3 separate regions of the Homo sapiens genome follow, and all the other regions are linked to region 2. The links are contacts of gene promoters, found by promoter capture Hi-C in human tissues and cell types (Jung and others, 2019). All regions are on one chromosome and are shown on one strand. Each heading gives the region's core, a stretch centred on a gene start or on the middle of the fragment in contact. The rest is flanking DNA. Distances are from core to core; before and after follow the strand shown.

Region 1 (3,164 bases), core at 305-2,804, 1.1 Mb after region 2:
GCAGTGCAGTGGCATGATCATGGCTCACTGCAGCCTCGACCTCTTGGGCTCAGGCAGTCCTCCTGCCTCAGCCTCCTGAGTAGCTGGGACTGCAGGTGTATGCCACCACACCTGGCTAATTTTAAATTTTTTAGAGATGGGGTCTCACTATGTTGCCCTGGCTGGTCTTGAACTCCTTTGCTCAAGCAGTCCTCCCAACTTAGCCTCCCAAATCATTGGGATGAGAAGCATGAACCACTGTGCCTGGTTAATTACATAGATATTTACATATCTACTATCTTAAAACGGTGTCCTTTTAAGAATTTCAAATGATGCTTTATAGTTTCTAATATGGTGCACTGGGTATACTGTTGATATTTAAAGTTTTGTGAATGATAAATTTCCCTACTTCAGTAGTGCCATAGAATTAATTGATTCTTGTATCTGAAATTTAATGAGTGCTTATGAAGTATGCTGGACTGTGCTAGGTTCTGACAGCATTTGAAAAGAAGTTTGACATCTGCCTGTCTGTCCCCTTTTGGCTGCCTATGAGGTGTGTAAGATGGCTGCAATTTGAGGAGGCATCCTTTGTTCCTGAGGATAGAAGGTGCATTGTGGAGTAGAAAGATACAGGAACTATAGGCGATGCCACACCAACTCTGTGCCACTTATCTCCAGAATTCCTGTACAGAAAAGAAAAGTACACTTTTATCTTGTTTAAGCCACTATGATTTCTGGGCTCTGTTACTAGCTGCCAAATGCAAATCTTAACAGATACAGAAGTCCTTGAGGATTTTTGAGCAAGGAACTGACTGTAAAACTGGTGGCTCTGCAAGGGACAGATTTGGGGAGGGGGGTGTTCTGGAGAATCCTAAGAGATAAAGTTGGCTTGGTAGGTGGGGACAGATAGTAGGGGAGACTGAATGCGGAGAATACACATCTTGCACAGGTCACTGAATTTTGTTTCTTTTTCCCAGGACACCTCTGCTAAACTCCTATTTTTACCGTGGTTATTTAAATATGTGGTTATTGAGGAATTTGTATTCTGCTATCGTCAAGTGGCCTGAAAGCCAGGGAGATCGAGAAGATGAGTGTTCTTTGTGCTTTAAAAAGAAGCAGGCAAAAGCTGGAACGGGAAAGAGTATCAGTGTTACAGTGAAGTGAAGTTACTATGTTTTCTGAACTCCTGCAAGCATTTTCAAGGAAAGGAATGTTTGTTACAGGTGATTGTCTAATCAAGATACATTTGAAATGTATCCTTTACTGGATAGCAACTGTAAACAATATTTAAAAAATATATCTCAGAGTGACTTGCAGAGTAAAGATAATTTCATATGCTAAAATTTCTAAAAGGAGAAAAACCTTTTTTATTAACTTTAATGTTCATATAATCACATTGAGTAATGGCTATTTTTTTCCTAGTGAACTTTTCATTTTAGGTTGGGCAGGTAATTTTATACCTTTAATTACATGGGTCTTAAAAATATGATCCTATAGCCATAACTGAATATTATAAGCTTGGGTACTTTATGTTTCATCTTTCATTAAGGAGTATATTTCTCAGATCCTACCAGATCCTACTTTTTTTTTTTTTTTTTTGAGACAGAGTCTCACTCTGTCACCTAGGCTGGAGTGCAGTGGTGCTATCTTGGCTTACTGTAACCTCTGCCTCCCAGGTTCAAGCAGTTCTCCAGCCTCAGCCTCCTGTGTAGCTGGGACTACAGGTGTGCACTGCCACATCCGGCTAATTTTTTTTTTTTTTTTGGGATGGAGACTCACTCTGTTGCCCAGGCCAGAGTACAGTGGTGTGATCTCAGGTCACTGCAACCTCTGCCTCCCAGGTTCAAGCGATTCTCCTGCATCAGCCTCCTGAGTAGTTGGGACTACAGGTGCGTGCCACTACGCCTGGCTAATTTTTTGTATGTTTAGTAGAGATGGGGTTTCACCGTGTTAGCCAGGATGGTCTTGATCTCCTGACCTCGTGATCCGCCTGCCTCAGCCTCCCAAAGTGCTGGGATTACAGGTGTGAGCCACCACACCCAGCCTAATTTTTGTATTTTTAGCAGAGACGGGGTTTCACCATATTGGCCAGGCTGGTCTTGAACTCCTGACCTCAGGTGATCTGCTGGCCTTGGCCTCCCAAGGTGCTGGGATTACAGGCATGAGCCACTGTACCCGGCCCTCAGATCTTATTTTCTATGGACACCCTACTTTGCTTCAGCCCTGAGGTCCCAGCTGCCCCATTCAACATTTTTACCTTCCTTTTCTGCATTGTCCTAACCTTTAGGAAATCTGAACCCCAGTAGTTGACTGTCTTCTGAACTAGGTGAACCTAATATCCCAATCTCTCTGTTTCCCTAAAAATGGGTTGGCAATTCTAAAGTTCCTTTCAAACCTGGTTGGACAGATAATTATAAGCCTTAATGCAATGACAAATTTCAAGGTCCCTCCAGGCAGTGACTTTCAGCCTTCCCTCTACACATGGAAAGGAATGTGCCCAGTATTACCTGAAAATTCTTACTAGGTTTTGCCTCAAAACGTAATATTTGGAATCTTTTTTTATAATTTTCCCACTACAGACTGGAGACAATCCATATATTACTATTAAAATTGAGTTGCGGCTGGGCACGGTGGCTCACGCCTGTAATCCCAGCACTTTGGGAGGCTGAGGCAGGAGGCTATTCAGTATTACCTGGAAATCAGAATGCCAATTACTCAATAACCATGTATTTAAATAGCCATGATGAAACAGGAATTTAGCAGAGGTTACCTGGGAAAAAAACAAACCCATTAATTATGTCTCTCAAAGTCCTTGTACCTTTTGTAACTTTTTTGTACCTCTTACCAAGAAAAAAAAAATTGTATCTCCCTACCTTTCCCTCCCCATTTGGAAAAAGTACCCTAGAATGCAAGAGACTGAACATCAGGTTGTAACCTGGACTATCTGTTGCAAACTGTCATACTTTTTTTACGAACTTGAAACATTTTAGAGATAGGGTCTTGCTCTGTCGCCCTGGCTGGAGGGCAGTGGCACCATCATAGGTCACTACAGTCTCAAACTCCTGGGCTCAAGTGATCCTCCCATTTCAGCCTCCTGAGTAGCTGAGGCTACAGGCATGTGCCACCACACCCAGCTAATTTAGAACATTTTTCTTTTTTTGTAGAGACAAGGTATTGTTATGTTG
Region 2 (3,195 bases), core at 102-2,601:
GGAAAAATCTGTAGGGTGGGGAGACTCGGGGAAATGTGTCCTGGTCCAGTGCAGGTAACATATATGGGTATATATGCGTATATACATATTTATACCATATTTAATATATTACTCTATTAAGAAATTATAACAAATTTCCTTTTACATTACACATCCACATATTAAACCCCCAATATGTGCTAACAAGGTTAGAATTTAAGTATAATGATAATGTTCTCAGTTTTTTGTGGTGGACACTTTAAGAGAGTGTAAATAATAATAAAAATAATAGAGTGATCAGATCACTTGTGCTCAGGGCTAGACCCTTCAGCCCCAACGGCCTTAACCCCCCTCAACTGCTTTTCCAACCAAATATTCCTCCCCCTGCAGGATCCCAGGGCCATCCAATCAACCGGCCAATGACGGTTTCAGAGAAGCGGTCCTGGGGAGGGGTATTATCTGCAGGAACACGTCCTGCCAACTTTGTAGTCGAGTCACCTATTTCGGTTGGTAGCGGCCGCTATTTCTTTAAAAGGGCAGTGGATTTCGAAACAGGAGGGGGAGGTCAGGAAAAGGAACTCAGCTGCCTTTGATAACTGCCCTGCAGCCTTCCCTTCCCGGAGCGCGTGCTCGGCTCGGGAAGCGCCCGCGGCCGCCGCATCCCCGAGCGGGCGCGTGGCGCCACCTCTTTCCGGGGCGCCCACCTTCCCCGGGAATCCCCCCGCCCGACGGTCCCCCAGCGTCTGCGGCGCGGCCGCCCCGGCTTTGTCTCCGGCGTCGCGCTCGGGCGCCCGCTCTCCCCACATTTCCCCGTGTGCAGGCTGTAACCCGATCTCCCATTTCCTGGTGGATTCTCTTAAAGAGGCAGCGGTCGAGAAGCAGAACAAAGGCTATTGTTTTATTTCCTCCTTCGGATTCCGCGTCCTAACCGGAATGGCCCTTCATAGATAATTACTTTCGTTGCATCTGCGCTTAGTGAAACGTTTCAAAACCCTTGTGCACATCGATGTATCCAAGAGACGGAGCCAGGGGAGGTGGGAGGAGTTTAATAAAACCTGTTTTGTGGTGTCTGGGGCCACAATGTAACGTTTTTTAAAGGTGTCTTCCTTAAGCCCGGAAATTGGCTCGGCCAGCGGGAGGTCTCGCGGCGTGGAGGGCGGGCGCCCGCACCGGGGGCCGGCCTGGGGGGCTGCGCCGCTCGCCCCGCTCGCAGCCGCGGCCCCACGCGGCCCCGCTACCCGGGTTTCCTCCGCCCGCGCCCCCGCGGCCGCCCCTCCCCCGCGCAGCTTTTATTTCCCCGATGCCGGGCTGTAACCCGAGCTTTTATTTCCTGGTGGCTCCTTTAAGAGGCAGAGCTCAGTGCTGGGAATTCACGTCAGTTTCTGCACTGAAACTCTCAAGATCAATGAGCAAAGAGCTTTCTCAGTTCTGCCTTTCAGTTTCTCTCTTCCAGGAAGGAAAACATTCGAGAGAGCGAGGGAGAGCCGCGGGAGGGCGGGGGGCGGGGGCGCCGGCTGCGGGTGGGAGGAGAGACCGGGAGGCCGGCCGGGCTGCGTCCCGGGTCCCCGCGCCGCGCCGCGACCTGCAGACCCCGCCGCCGCGCTCGGGCCCGTCTCCCACGCCCCCGCCGCCCCGCGCGCCCAACTCCGCCGGCCGCCCCGCCCCGCCCCGCGCGCTCCAGACCCCCGGGGCGGCTGCCGGGAGAGATGCTGGAAGAAACTTCTTAAATGACCGCGTCTGGCTGGCCGTGGAGCCTTTCTGGGTTGGGGAGAGGAAAGGAAAGTGGAAAAAACCTGAGAACTTCCTGATCTCTCTCGCTGTGAGACATGTCTGAGACTCCTGCTCAGTGTAGCATTAAGGTAAAAATCTTCTCCCCTCCTTCTACGTGGTGGAAACCCTGAGCTGCACCGGCCAGGGCAGTCGTGCTGGGCTCCTCAGAGCAGGCTGTTGCAGTTGCTCTGTTCGCAGGAAATTATTTGGGGCGAGAGGGAAAGAGATGCAGCTCGCGGTGGCTGCTGTACCCTTTAGCGTAACCTTGCTACTCCCCCCCACCGCCGAGCCCCTGCCGGCTCCTCGGCCCCCACCCCCTTGCTTTTTGACAATGAAATGCCGGTCACAATTGGTCAGAGCAACCCGGATTGTCTCCAGAACCGTAAAACACCCCCGTAATTAGTGCGCTTAAAAAAAAAAAAAACAAAAAACAAAAAAAAAAAACCTGCTCCCTATTCCTACACCCAACATGTGACTGAAATATAACTTTTGTTCCCGAGGGGTGGTCGTCTTAGAAAAAAAGTTGTTCAGTTTCCACTGCGATAGAATCTTTTTATTTTTTTAAAGGACTCTCTGGGTCTGATCAGACAGGATTTTTTTCCCCCTCGTCTGATTGTAATTGCAAGCGCTGTCGGAGAGACAGTCCTGGTGTCAGCTTTTCCTAGGCATTGCACAATGAATTTTTTTTTAAAACCAAGGTGAATAAAGTTGCTGAATAGTTATTTTACTCCGATCCATATGAAAGTTGAGCAATCCCAAAGTAGAAAACTCCTGTGATGGAGGGAGAGGAAGAACTAAGCAACCAGGCAAAATGACCTTCTGTGTTTGACAGTGCAGAGAGGCTATCTAAGCAGCACTCTGTAAATGCAGGGCGGTAGATGTTTGTAAACACACTGCTGGGCTACCCAGTAGTTGTGTGTATGCATGTCTATATATCTGTAAAGACTGTGGTGCTGCGGTTTGTTGCTTCTAAAAAGTTGTTGTAAAGTTTGCCACCATTGGGAGGCAGGATGATTTATCCATCTACCCGTGTTATTTTTCCCATCGCTGCATTTATTGTACACTTTATTCATTTCGCTGTTCCACCAGTACCCAGGTAGAAAGCCTTCCGCTCTTGTGAGAGGCTGAAGCTGCTGAAGTTTGTTTTTGGTTTGGCCTATTTAATGTGTGTTCACTGAATGGACACTACAGCAACAATGAACAAATAACCTGTTTTCTTCGTCTGTGGGGAGTTAGAAAAACCCTTCCTGGTTTAACACTGCCTTTCAATTAGAGTCTGTGTAGGGGAAACGCAGTAGTTCATCATACGTGCTTACTAGGTTTTTTATAATTAGAATCACATTTTGGTGTTTCTTATCAGAAAAGATATTCATGGGTTTGAGGATAGGCTAATGTGAAATCAAAAGGTGGTTTGGGCTTCTTTGTTTTTGCCTCACAAAAATGCCT
Region 3 (3,033 bases), core at 481-2,980, 1.1 Mb after region 2:
TTTTCTTTTTAGTTTTATCTAACCATCAGTTTCCCTTTCCCTGACATAGCAATCCCATTGTAATTTCCTAGTGTGAAACTTCTCCCTGAGTATATATGTAATGTGGGTGGGAAGGTCAAGTTCTTTTACCATCTCCCACTTGAAAGCTGAAGGCCATTCACCCCTCTTCTCCCTGCCCAGTGCAGACAGTAGATGGGCACTTGACCTAAGCTCAGCCAACCCAGTGGTCACTCCTGGAACTTTGATTCTTAAACTGATACAAGGACAAAAGGAAAGAGTGGTTGGTCAGTTTCATCACACAGGCTGTTCCAATTACAAAACGACTGATGTCCTTTCAGTTTCTTGGTTCTTTAGAACTCCATGGTCCTTTCCCATGTTCAAGTATGTGTTCCCTCAGTCTCATAGCAATAATTCGCTTATATTAGCCAGAGCGAGATTTTTACTACAAGTTGAGTATTCCTTAACCAAAAGGTTTGGGACTAGAAGTGATTTGGATTTCAATTTTGGCAGGATTTTAGAATATTTGCATTATATGTTTACCAATTGAGCATCCCTAATTAAAAAATCTGAAATCCGAAATGTTCCAGTGAGCATTTCCTTTGAGCATCACTCTAAAATCCAAAACTTACTGAGCACCAGTGTGACGCTCAAAGGAAATGCTCACTGCAGCATTTCAGATTTCAGATTTTTGCATTAGGGAAATTCAACGTCTCAACCTGTGTATCCAGATGGAGACGGCAATTCCAAAGAACAAACTGAAGAGGAAGAGGGTATAGGAGGTGGATGATGGTGTCACAGTTCACCTGGAAATATCTTCTCTACAAGGAAAGGTGTTTTTTTTTTTTTTTTTTTTTTTTTTTTTTTTTTTTGTTGTTGTTGTTTTTTGAGACAGGGTCTCACTCTATCACCCAGGCTGGAATGCAGTGGTGCAGTCTCGGCTCACTGCAACCTCTGCCTCCTGGGGCTGAAGCGATCCTCCCACCTCAGGCTCCTGAATAGCTGGGACCACAGGGGTGCACAACCACACCTGGCTATTTTTTTTATTTTTTATTTTTTTGTGGAGACAAGGTTTTGCCATGTTCCCCAGGCTGGTCTTAAACTGAGCTCAAGCAGTCCGCCAGCCTTGGACTCCCAAAGTGCTGGGATTACAGGTGTGAGCCACTGTACTTGGCCAGGAAAGCATCCTGACAATGATCTGATGGTTTACATTTCTTCTGCTTGCTTCTCCCTGTGGGAGGCATATACCTCTCTATCTTTTTGCTTATTTTATTTTACATTTTTGAGACAGGGTCTCAGTCTGTTGCCCAGGCTGGAGTGCAATGGTGTGACCATGGCTCACTGCAGCCTCGCCCTCCTAGGCTCAAGCACTCCTCCCACCTCAGCCTCCCAAGTAGCTGAAACTACAGGTGCACACCTCCTCGTGTGGCTAATTTTTAATTTCTTTTTTTTTTTATAGAGATGGGTTCTCACTGTGTTGCCCAGGCTGATCTCAAACTCCTGGGCTCAAGCAATCCTCCTGCCTCGGCCCCCCAAAGTGCTGGGATTACAGGAGCCAGCCAGTGTGCCTAGCTCCTACCCCTTTAATGTTGGGTTGGCCACAACTTGATTGGCCAATAGAATGCCAGTGGATGTGATGGCTACCCTGTCTGAGCAGCCTTAGGAATGATTAGTCAATTTTGCTTCCAAAACATATTCTGTACTTTATCCACTCCATTGCATCCTACCAACATTAGCCAAATCTGAGATAATCTCTGTCAACTACTTCAATAACCTTCTAACTGTCTCCTGGCTTTAGTTGTGTACCTCTGAGAACCATCCTTCACACAACTGTCACACAACAATGTCAAATTAACCTTGTAAGGCCACAGATGAAAGCCTTCAATGGCTCCCTCTTTCCCACATGGCACTGGAAAGCTGTCATGACTTGTCTTCTACCTACCCCTTAAGCCTCATCCTTTGGCCTTCCCTGCTTCCCACTTTATGTTCAGCAACACTAAACACCCTGGACACTCCTCCATTCCTTTGTCCATTCTGTTCCTTTGTCCAGACTGCCCTCCTCTCTCTCCTAATTTTTGTCCAAATAACTTCTGTTTGACTCTCAAGATTCAGCTCAATATCAGTGCTCCCAGAAAGTCTTCCCTAGTACTTCCTGGGCATGTATTTGCCCTGTGCTTTCTTGGTACCAGCACACACCCCGGCACTTCCCCACCTTAAATTTAAATGATATATTCTGTCTTTTTCTCTTCCAATAGATTTGCCGTCTCCTGGAGGGCAGGGACTATATCTTATTTAGCTTTTGGTCCCCAGACTCTAGCCTGATGTCTGGCACACAGTAGGTGTTCAATACACATTAGTGGAGCTGAAATCGAACAAATTAAACATTAATATAAGCAAATTCTGAAAGCCTTCTGCCTCTATTCTTACAAAAGCTGGTGGCATTATAAATGGGTTCTTCTGGAAAGCAATATAGCACTATATAACAAAAACGATGAAGATGGTCATTCTCCTTGACTTGGTATTTTCCCGTTTGTGAATACTCCTCAAAGAAATAATCCAAAGGAAAAAAAATGTACACAGATGTCCTGGCAACTCTAGTTATAACAGTGAAAAACCTGGAAGCAATCCAAGTGTCTAACAGGGAAATGACTAAGCAAACAATGGGATTATTACATAGCTATTAAAAAATGACAGAGGTGAGGACTATGTCAACATAGACAAGTGTGTATCTATCTGCAGGAACGTTAAGTAGAAAAAAGAACACAGGCTAGTGTTTAAACACTAGTGATTAAGGATGTGTGTGTACATTAACAAAGATTGGAGGCTAATTTGGAGGAATGAAAATGGCTGGAGTGCAGTACTTGTTGAGTCTTTATTTTCCTGTGCAGTTCCATGAATTTTTGACAATAATACTTGAGATTCCATGCAATATAGATATCCTAGAGGTCTTCTGCAGAATAAGTATTCTAAGTTATACCAAGCTGTATAGTCCAAGAGAAAATTTTATGTTAAATTCTTATAAAATTGTTATAAAAT

The links. The method cuts DNA at HindIII sites, captures the fragments that hold promoters and counts their contacts. A contact is called where the count stands out against the background at its distance.
Region 1: a fragment that was not itself captured here is called in contact with the fragment with the promoter of ETV6 in region 2 in 1 of the 25 tissues and cell types used here (liver).
Region 3: a fragment that was not itself captured here is called in contact with the fragment with the promoter of ETV6 in region 2 in 1 of the 25 tissues and cell types used here (sigmoid colon).

What each region holds. Positions count from the first base shown.
Region 1 is chr12:12,738,257-12,741,420 of GRCh38, forward strand. It overlaps a transcript of APOLD1 not described here. Among named protein-coding and RNA genes, the nearest start is that of CDKN1B, 22 kb to the left of the region's middle. The HindIII fragment of the contact is 3,194 bases long and covers 1-3,151 here.
Region 2 is chr12:11,648,323-11,651,517 of GRCh38, forward strand. It overlaps ETV6 (ETS variant transcription factor 6), which reads left to right and starts at 1,352. Exons shown (of 8, transcript NM_001987.5): 1 at 1,352-1,838. The coding sequence starts at 1,806. RefSeq lists an enhancer at 255-354 and silencers at 535-774, 1,065-1,274, 1,485-1,534, 1,545-1,704. The HindIII fragment of the contact is 9,953 bases long and covers 1-3,195 here.
Region 3 is chr12:12,777,057-12,780,089 of GRCh38, forward strand. It overlaps a transcript of APOLD1 not described here. Among named protein-coding and RNA genes, the nearest start is that of APOLD1, 7.1 kb to the right of the region's middle. The HindIII fragment of the contact is 8,085 bases long and covers 1-3,033 here.